Linked DNA regions of Homo sapiens: region 2 is linked to region 1. Evidence: promoter capture Hi-C in 16 types of primary human blood cells and fetal thymus (Javierre and others, 2016). All regions are on one chromosome and are shown on one strand. The core of a region is centred on a gene start or on the middle of the fragment in contact, and the rest is flanking DNA. Distances in the headings are between cores, read along the strand shown. Region 1 holds the start of FERD3L (Fer3 like bHLH transcription factor). Region 2 has its middle 270 kb from the start of MIR3146.

The links. The method cuts DNA at HindIII sites, captures the fragments that hold promoters and counts their contacts. A CHiCAGO score of 5 or more calls a contact.
Region 2: a fragment that was not itself captured here is called in contact with the fragment with the promoter of FERD3L in region 1 in 3 of 17 cell types (M0 macrophages, M1 macrophages and megakaryocytes); the score reaches 6.3 in M0 macrophages.

What each region holds. Positions count from the first base shown.
Region 1 is chr7:19,142,761-19,148,115 of GRCh38, forward strand. It overlaps FERD3L (Fer3 like bHLH transcription factor), which reads right to left and starts at 2,661. Exons shown (of 1, transcript NM_152898.2): 1 at 2,022-2,661. The coding sequence starts at 2,602. The coding sequence ends at 2,102. RefSeq lists enhancers at 1,394-2,593, 3,059-3,707. The HindIII fragment of the contact is 4,985 bases long and covers 1-2,796 here.
Region 2 is chr7:19,434,602-19,439,956 of GRCh38, forward strand. No RefSeq gene overlaps it. Among named protein-coding and RNA genes, the nearest start is that of MIR3146, 270 kb to the right of the region's middle. The HindIII fragment of the contact is 1,565 bases long and covers 1,573-3,137 here.

The DNA of each region.
Region 1 (5,355 bases), core at 1,411-3,910:
ACATCTTGGGAGTGGGGGCTCGTTTCAGAACTAATCCAGGTCCTATGAAAAGGAAAACTAAGAAAAGTTTTAAATATTCGAAGTACTAATGAAGGGGCTGGGAAACAGGCAAATCCCTGCAATGCTAGAGGGTGGGAGAGTGAACTGGCAGAACCCACCAAGAAGGGAATCTGGCCATTTATATCCACAAACTTGAATCCAGAAATTTCACTTCTAGGTATCAAATGTTAGGAAGTAATAATAGACAGAGAAGGCATTTACAAGAATGCTCTTAGCAGCATCATTTATTTTTTAAAAAGGAAATAGCTATCTATCTGGAAAGGGCTGGTGGTGGTGTGATACATGGATAAGACAATAAGATATGGTAATCAAAATCACATTTGAATAATATTAAAGTTAAGGGAAAACATTGCACCTTCTATAATGCCAAGTGGAAAAATATCAGTATCCCAAAGTATCTCGAATTAGTAAAATATATTGAATTTATAACTGCACAGGGAAAAAAAGACTGGAAAGAAATAGATGAAAATGCTAACAGTATGGTAACGTGGAGTGATTCGAATTTTCTCTTTTTTGAAATTTTTTTTTCCAAAATTTCTAGGATGAGTATATGTTACTTATTAATGAAATGAATTCTATTTCCGAAAGCATGATTAAGAGAATTGTGTGTTCGCACAGGCTCCCGCCTATTTCTGTGTGCAATGAGGGGCGAAATAAAGTGTTGGAATAATCACTGGGGATTATCCTTTAGGATTACTGAATTTATGTTTAGGTTGGCATTATTCAATCGGGTTCCTCGCCTCAGTTACCCACTCCTTTCTGAAAGACCCCAGTTCTGGTACTAGCACGTCACCTAGAAGGAAGAATCCTGGAATGGCACGGGTCCAAACTAGAGGCGGCCTCTCAGCATGGACCCGCTTCAACCTCATCTGCATGGCAGGCGTTTTGCAAGGCGTCAGAAGGCATCTCCTCTTTGGACTTTTTGTCTCCCCTGGTAGTCTCTAGAAGCCATTAGAGTGAAAGCTATCTTTCCTACCTACAGCTAAAAATGTAAAAGTGAGCGCGCTCAGGCGGCCCTGCTCCTAGAAAGATCCAGGCCCCTTCATACCCCAACCCCTGGCCGGGGACAGTTGGTAGCGGTGGCTGGTGGCGAAGCTGCAGGGCGCCCAAGGCCCCCTGCGGCCCAGGAGTGACCCGAGTGCACTCGCCCCTTACTCTGGCCTGGGGCCTGAAGAAGGCACTGGAACACGGAAGCTGATGCTGCACTTTAGATGCAAAGCGTAGATTTGCACTCTGGCTAAGGCACTGAATGAACACCACTGTGGCCCTGGGACAAGGAGCTGTGGTCCGTCTGGGATCAACTAGGTGGCGAAGGGGAGGGAGAAAGGAAGAGAGAGGGCTTGCGCGCGGGAGAGAGGAAGGGACGGGAGGGAGAGGGAATGGAAGACAGGAAGGGTGTCCCTTCTCAGAGGTCGCACTTTGTCAGCAGTTCCTCTCGACTGCTCTGCCTTCCATTTTTCCTTTCCTCAGTTCCTGGACAAGCCTCGGAGGACCAGGCAGAACCCTCTGGCTAGCAGAAAAGCTCGCACCCCCGCACCCTTGCGGCGTCTGCTTCAGACCCTCCACGCAGGCGCCCGCTGGAGCGCCTGCTGGGGATGGCGTACCACCGACCCTTCAGGCTTTTTAAAAACGTAAGAATTTCTACTTTATTATCTCTATGAAAAAAAAAATGTAAAGAAGAGAGGTTAGATTTTATAGAAGCTCCAAAGTCTGCCATTTGCGAGGAGGGTTCACTTCCCACCCACCCAGCCCACGGAAGCTCTTAGGAGCAGCCTGAACGGCCCCGACTCAGCCTCACGCTCTCTGACTTCCCCGCTCGCCCCTGACCCCGACTTCACTTAGGGCGGTCGCGTAGATATGAACTCTACAGCAGCCACTCTGCTCAGCGCATGTGGGGATCTTACAATCTCGACCCCGACCTCCAGAAGACCAGACGTTCTGTCTTGGGGCCTCCCTCCCGGCCCTTTAGCCTCACCCAGTGCCCGGTCCTGACACACCCCAGCACTACCAGACGAGGAAGGGCAGACTCTCCACACCAGGCTCAGCCGCTTTCCTTCTTCTCACAGCTCTCCAAGAGCTCGGTCATGAAGGAGATATAGACGATGGCCAGGCGGAGGGTCTCGATCCGGGACAGCCTTTTCTCGTAAGCAAACGTGGGCACCTTCCTCCGCAGCTGGTCAAAGGCCTCGTTGAGGTTGAACATCCGCTTCCTTTCGCGGATGTTGGCGGCCTGGCGCTGGGCGTAGGTGATCACCCTTTTCCTCTTGGGGCGGCCTAATAGGGAGACACCTCTTCCGCGCTCCTCTTCCTCCTCCTCTTCTCCGTCCCCCTGGTCCACTTCGCACTCCTCTTCTTCTGGGTCCCCCTCTTCAAACCGCGCCATCCTCCTGGGTCTTCCCTCTCGGAGCGCAAGGGCTGGGTCCCCCAAGGAGACCCCGGGTGCGAAGTCGCAGAGGAGAGGGCGTCTCGGGGAGGCCAGGGACAGGTCTGCGACGAAGTCCAGCACCGTAGTGTCCACGCAGCTCTCCGGATAGGCCGCCATCGCTTCGGCTTGGCCCTGCCTCTCATCGGTTTTCCGCAGGGAGGGGCGAGGTTGCTGGTGGGGATTCTTAACAGCCTTGAATCTGATGGGGCACCATCACCGAAAGGCCAGGGAACATTAAATATTTATAACCAAGCTGATAACAGGATTAGTCGCACCGATAAGGAATGCTCTGACAACGTCCCTTCTCTCGAAGCTTATGGAAGATGACAAGCTTGAGCACGCATGGAAGACTCAAAGGGACAGGGCTCCAGTTCTGAGATCCTTTTCTCTGCGCCACCCGGGACAGTTCCTTGTTGGCAACAACCCCCAGCTCTTACCTGCTGTGCTTTTTGTGTCTGTCTTCACCCCTGCAGCCAACTAATGTTCTCCAGGCTCCTTATCTCGTGTAGTTCTTTAATTTCGTGTTGGATTTTCAAAGCGAGGATGTTTTCCACCGCGATGGCTTCTCCTTGACTTCAGGGTAGGAGTCTTGAATCTTGCCACCATCTGCCAATGGATGTGGAGCAAGTGCATGTGCTTTTAATGATGTCCTGAAGAGGGGCCCTGCCTGCCTGGCATCAAGGGGAGCTGTTTGTCTGGTATCCCAGTGCAGCGGCTGCTGAAAGGCAAGACCTTCAATTAGCTTAAGTAAGCATGGCAGGGGGACCGAGAGTGCATTCCCCAGAGTCGCTGTTGGAACCGGCTTTCTTTTCTTTCCAGGGCATCGCAAACAGCTCTCCTGCCACGTTACAAACCCTGACTTCTAAAGTCTGTTTGGATGCAATCAGCGTAACAATTGAGATACTTGACTTTCCTTTCCCTACCTTTACCTCCTACTCATATAAAATAGAGGATTTTATTCCAAGAGGAAAAGTTATGATGGCAATAAAATGAGAAATTTAAGCTCAGGATATTTTCTATGCTCGGGCTTTGCTGTATACTTTTCAGTGTGGGGGACAAAGCAAACTCTCCTCACAAACAAAACCACTTCAAGCTCTTTTCAGAAATGCGATTTGCCCTTGATAAGCCAAAGAGTCAATCAGCTCACCCTCTGCTGAGGAGTCTTCGGACTTTTAAATTGCGGATCGAGTATTTGTTCCCGAACAAAGAAAAAAACCTAACACTTCCATCTGGCGTATTTTCCTCATTGATTTGTATTGTCCTACAGTAAGACTTAAGTGCAGAAACAATGATTTATTGAAATATATTTAAGGGAGTTTTTGGCTATCGTTAGATCGTTATTTTTGAGAAAAGAAAGAGATTTTAAATTTGGCATAAGAAAAATAAGAGATTACTCATTTTATATTATCTCGAGTATCCCAAATATTTTAACAAAAAGGTTCTTTTTCTTTGTTTGCCAATAACTATATTTACTTAATTATTCAGTACTGTGTAAAGATTTATTTAAAAGACCCATTGTGTCAAAGTGACAGATTAGAAGATAATTTTAAAGGTAGATTGGAAGAAATAGCCTAAAAAGATGAATGTAGAAACATCCCGGTTCAAAAGAGAACTGCCCAGGACGTCAGTCCCTATTAAGGGGGTAAGTTGTGGTTATGATGGTTCACTCAGTACATTGGACAGCTCCCAGAAACCAGAAACCGCCTATTTCTAACAGGTAATCTCAATTCATTTTCTTCTTCCTAGCCTCTATGTGTGTAATCAAAACAGTATAACCTTTAATTCTTCTTCTTCTTTTAACCCATTTGTGTCTGGTGTCTCTCGATCTTTTAATAGATTTTATCTTCTTTTGCTTGTGTTTACTCTTCATTCTCCAGTTTGAATTGTGATAACTCAGGCAGAGAATAATTGAAATTTGTGATCCTGGAAGATGTTAAAGAGAATGAGATCTTTGGTTGTTACTTAGTTGATTTTTGCTAAGCATCTTTCAAAGGGAAGGCTGAAAAATAAATAATAGGATTGTCAACAGTGGCTATGAAGCTAGTAAATGGGAGAACTGATTTTTGTTTCAAAAAAGTAGTAACATGCTTGCTAACCCTCGTTTAAATTAATATGTTATTAAATATTTGGACAAATTTCTTGTTGATTTTTAAATTATGTTAAATGCTTCTCAGTGACTTATTTTGTATTCATTTACAATCTATTTGCAAGTGGATTAAACACCTCAGTCAATTGAGAATCTAGTTTCGCAATATAATACACTGGAAAACAATGAAGGAAAACATGGTTGATATTTAAATTTAAAATTTCATAAAATGGGGGTCAGAAGCCTTCATGAGACTAAAGAGATAGTTTCATTGGACTGAACTCCTTTATGATTTTAGCCAAGGCAATGTACCTTTCTTGCTTGCCTTCCTTCCTTCCTTCCTTCCTTCTTTCTTTCCTTCCTTCCTCTCTCCCTCCCTCCCCCTTACTCCTTTTTCTTTCTTTCTTTCTTTCTTTCTTTCTTTCTTTCTTTCTTTCTTTCTTTCTTTCTTTCTTTCTTTCTTTTTCTTTCTTTCTTCTTTCTTTCTCTTTCTTTCTTTCTTTCTTCTTTCTCTCTTTCTTTCTTTCTTTCTTTTTCTTTCCTCCTTCTCTCTTTCAACAGAGCCTCACTCAGTCATCGAGGCTGGAGCGCAGTGCTACAATCATAGCTTACTGTGCCTCAAACTCCTGGGCCCAAGCAACTCTCCTGCCTCAGCCTCCCGAGTACCTAGGACTGCAGGCACTGGCCACCTCATCAAGCTAAAGGTTTTGTTCTTTAGAGAGGAGGTCTAACTATTTTGCTCAGGCCTCAACCAGTCCTCTCACCTTGACCTCCCAAAGTGCTG
Region 2 (5,355 bases), core at 1,105-3,604, 290 kb after region 1:
ATAAAATATATTAATAAAAAAGTAATAAATGCACAGGATAAAAGATGCATTCATTATAAAAAGAAATTAAATTGAAGTATGTTCCCCTTAGACTTACAACTCTACTTCCTATTGTTGCAATGTTCTTATACTTCCTTGTAGAACATTATCTGTTTACTAACATAAATATATGTGCATATTTATTTATTTATTTATTTAGAAATGGAGTCTTGCTCTGTCACCCAGGCTGGAGTGCAGTGGTCTGATCTTGGCTCACTGCAACCTCCTCCTCCTGGGTTCAAGTGATTCTCCAGCCTCAGCCTCCTGAGTAGCTGGGATTACAGGCACGCACCACCATGCCTGGCTAATTTTTGTATTTTTAGTAAAGACGGGGTTTCACCATGTTGGTCAGGCTGGTCTCGAACTCCTGACCTCGTGATCCACCCGCCCCCGCCTCCCAAAGTGCTAGGATTACAGGTGTGAGCCACTGCACCTGGCCATACGTGCATATTTATATGTGCACTTATATATGTGCATACCTATACTCCTTTTATTTACACAATTTTCATAGTGATTTATTTTGATAACATTGCTTGGAGATCTATATTGGCACATAGATATATATCTCATTATTTTAAAAAATTGAGTAGTATTTGCCAAATATTGATGAATTCTAAAATTTTTGTGTTGTCCTTGTTTTTTGTTGTTGTATCCACAGCAAAAATTTCTATCTGTAGAATTATTAGGCCAAAGGCATGCACATTTTAAATGTCAGTAAATATTGCCAAATTACCCTCCTAATTTTGTAGCAATTGATAATATCAATTTTCCCACATCTATTTTTGCCATTCCCATGGGTGAGAAAGCATATTTTATTTAATTTTCATTTGTGTTTATATAATTATGAATCATATTGTTCCTTCATATTTATTAAATTATTGTATTTTTTATAACGAATCATTTCAAGTTCCTTTTATATTTCTACTTGTACAGCTAGACTCCCTCATTAGTTTTTAATATTTTCCTGATTCTTTTAGGATATTTTCCAGATGAACTTGACAACAATAGTCACAATAAAACACAGTTTCTCCTATTATTAACATTTTGCATTCGTGTAGTATATTTGTTACAATTGAAACTTAGTATCATATTGTGATTATGAAATAATTTAGAGAGCAGTGATATCTTTAAAATATTTTTTCTGTTAAGAAATATAGCTTTATTTCTCATTTATGTCTCTTAGAAGGGTTTGAAGTTTCAAAATTTAAGTAATATATATGTTAATCTTATTTCTAGAAATATCATTTTCCAGTCTTTTAAATAGTGACAATCTAATTCTGTGACAACATGCCTTATGATAATCTAAGGAACACAATACTTACTTAAATACATTTTTTCCCTCCTATCAACAATTGTTTTCATACAAACCTTTCAAAAACCAGATTCTGTTATTTTAGTGCTAATCCTAGAAATAAGAACTTTTATGGTTGAGTTATGAAGCACTTAATATGATATTTACCACTTTTCTGTTCATTCCTCACACATTTATTATATCCAAAAACCATGGACTCTTGCACCTTCCTTTATGAGATAAGCTTTATAAAACTATAATTTTAGAAATCAGTAACTGGTTTCTGTACAATTCCAGATAGAATATTATCACAGAAATTACTCAAAGTAGGGAAGTCATTTTCGGGGTGGGGTAGGGTGGGGATGGCATGGGTTTTGGGGATGAGATAGCTGAATGGGAACACAAATTTTCAAAAAAAAATTATTTTATCCAAAGTTTATTGGATTCTCATCTTCTTTGGGCAAGCAAAGAAAATGAAGACAGTAACAAAAAAATATAAAGCTGGGTGTGAGATCTAATATTACCAGTGCACATTTCTATGCTGCAACTTACGTATACTTCAGGACAACATTGTGAGATACATTCTTTGTTATTTTACAGATCAGAAAATACAGGCCCAGGATGCTAGAGTAAATTTCCAAAAGTCACAATCATAGACTTAGTTACGAAGGCCTGGGACTTGAACTCAGTCCTAGCCTGACTCCAAAGCCCATGTTCTCTTCATAATGCACTCTGCCATTCAGAAACCATTGATTGCATAGGGAAAGAATACCAGGTAATGCACTATGGGTAATAGAACAGAGTAATAAAATATAAATATTAAGCGCAAATAAAATGGAAAAAAATTCAAACAAGCACATTTTCCACTTATATTCTATAGGGAATTTCATCAGGCATATTACATTTTATGATACAAATAGCATAAACGCCACTGCTTCTACGTTATATACTTGGTTTTTTTAATGCCGAATCATCCTGTCTCTCTATTGCTTATAATACATGGTCTTTCCTATGAAATATTTTATTAGCAAGCTATTTAAGAACCTGAATTTATTTTCTCTTATAGAATAAGGACTTGATATCAGCCATTTAACAGAGGCAGGCTGTAGCCACTTCCCTTCCCTAATCCACTTTCATTAATTTTTTCTTTGTTCTTGGCATTATAACCTTTCTGTGTATACTCCCATACATTTCTCAGGCTGTAAAGAGTAAGCCATTTAAAAACAGCAAATCGAGAAATTTAGAGTTGAGAAAGCCCCTGGAGGTCGTCTGGATTACCATCCCTTATAATGCCTTATATATAGCCAGAAACAGTGTATAAAATTACACTCAGAACTGATCTAGAAGACATCACTTCTCCACAAACACAATGACTTTCACTGCCGACAACATTCAGTGCTTGACTTAACTCCAGTGCTTCGAGAAATTGGATCTATAGCCCTGATTTTATCCTCACTAGAATGAATTCCAAGTATTCTCTGCTACTTTGCATCTCTGGCTCATACTGCAGGTGCTGCTGATTAGACCCTAGCTTTATGCCTGCATCTAGCTCCAAGGGTCTGAGAAAGCAGGTATCTGATATCTATGGTAGGAAAAAAAACTGTCAAACATCCACTACATTTGTCAAGATCTCTATTACAACATAGCTTCTGAAACTGAATGCATCATTCCAGATGGCTTCTGACCAATGCAGTATGCAATGCAATTAGCCACCTTGGTCTGAACAGAATGCATAATTATATTGAAGCACATGCTAAGATTATATGAGTGATTTTCATATCCACATCAAAGGGTTGGTTCACAATTAAGCTTTCAGTTAACTATAACCCTAAAACTCCGTCATCTTTTACTGCTGTTTCATCATGTGTTCTCCCATCCTGCATTTGTACATTTGTGGCTTGATTTTTTAACCCAAATATAGAACTTCATAATTAGCCCTGTTACATTTCACTTTGTTAGTTTTGGCCCATCTTTCCAATATTTTTCAATCTTTTTGAATACTGTCTCTATCATCCAATATAGTAACTACTGCTACACAGCTTTGTATTATACACGTACTGGATAAACATGCTTTTGGTTTTAGTCCAAATTCCTGATAAAAATGCTGAAAATAATATAATACATATAAAACACTGTGGGATACCACACAATATTTTCATCCACGGTGGAATCGAACCATTAATTCATATTTCAAGCCATTGACTAAATTTATCTAGAGTTATGTTCAAAATGTGTTCTTTTTTTAGTTTGCATTATGATGATGATGATGATGATGCAAAGGGACACATGAAAGATATTTAAAAGAAAATTTCTTTATGGTATAAGCATTATGCAATAAGGAAGTAGGATGTGATTAATAATCAAAGATAACATATTCTCCAATGTGTGGACAATATATTCTTAAAAAATAAAATTATAAATCCCAGATTACTATCATGTATACTTTGTAGACCTGTCATAATATCATATTACTATAAATCTCAGAGCAAACAGCAAACATTTTCTGTGAAAGACCAGATAGTAAATATTTTGACTTTGCATTCCATGTGCTTTCTCTTGGAAATACCTAACTCTGCCCTTGTAGAGAAAAAGCAGCCATAGACAATACATATATGAGTGGAAATGATTGTTCCCATAAAACTTGACTTGTAAATATATGTGGCAGGCCAGATTTGGCCCATAGGCTCTAGTTTGTCCAACTGTTTTTAGAAGATGGTCTATACAAGGCCCACAAAGTGGGCATGTGGACTCACATATAGATGAATATATTACAATATTACAATATTCCCATAGTGTATATTTAATATTTTAAAAATTTCATATACTAGGTTTTCAAGAGCCAGAACTGTCTTGTTTCTTTTTTCTTTTTTTTTTTTTTTTTTTTGAGACAGAGTCTCGCTCTGTCGCCCAGGCTGGAGTGCAGTCGTGCAATCTCCGCTCACTGCAAGCTCCGCCTCCCGGGTTCACGCCATTCTCCTGCCTTAGCCTCCCCAGCAGCTGGGACTACAGGCATACACGACCACGCCTGGCTAATTTTTTTTTTTTTTTTTTGTATTTTTAATAGAGACGGGGTTTCACTGTGTTAGCCAGGATGGTCTCGATCTCCTGACCTTGTGATCCGCCCACCTCGGCCTCCCAAAGTGCTGGGATTACAGGCATGAGCCACTGTGCCCGGCCTGTCTTGTTTCATTTTGAACTTCAGTACCTAACAATGTTCTGGCACTTGCTAGTTGCTCCATATAAGTTGGTCATTATTCAAATAGGCATTAACATGCTATTTAAAATAGAGTCAGCATTCCTAGGTGTGGTGGACCCAGTTCCTCCCTTAAGAACAAGAACAATGGGCTTCCTACCTTTAACGCTAAGAGTGCTGCTGGTAGACAGCCCTCAGCTGAAAACCCTTAGAAATTACTTAGGGTCAAGAGAGCAACCTCTTCTAAGGCCGTGTCTCCTTCCCAGGACACCCTGTTTCCAGTGACAGATCAACATGAGGGATAAGGCTGATGTCTTTATTCTAACTCAGGACAAGTCTGAAGGTCATTTTAGCTTCAGAGTTCCTAGCTGAGGTCTTCATTGAGACTGAATTACAGCTAACCCGTCTCTTCTCAAATCTTCTTCCCTAAATTTTGATTTCAAAGGACTCCTGATATAGTTTGGCTTTGTGTCCCACCCAAATCTCATCTTAAATTGTAAATCTCTAGTTGTCAAAGGAGGGAACTGGTGGGAGGTGATTAGATCACGGAGGCAGTTTTACCCCTGCTGTTCTCGTGATAGTGAGGGAGTTCTTACAAGATCTGATGGTTTAAAATGGCAGTTTCCTCTGTGCTCTCTCTCCTGCTACCATGTGAAGGTCCCTGCTTCCTCTTTGCCTTTTGCCATGATTTCCTGAGGCCTCCCCAGCAATGCTGAACTGTGAGTCAATTAAACTTCTTTTGTTTATAAATTACTCAGTTTCAGGTAGTATCTTTACAGCAGTGTGAAAATGGACTAATACAACCCACTAATAATCCTCCTGCATTCTAGTA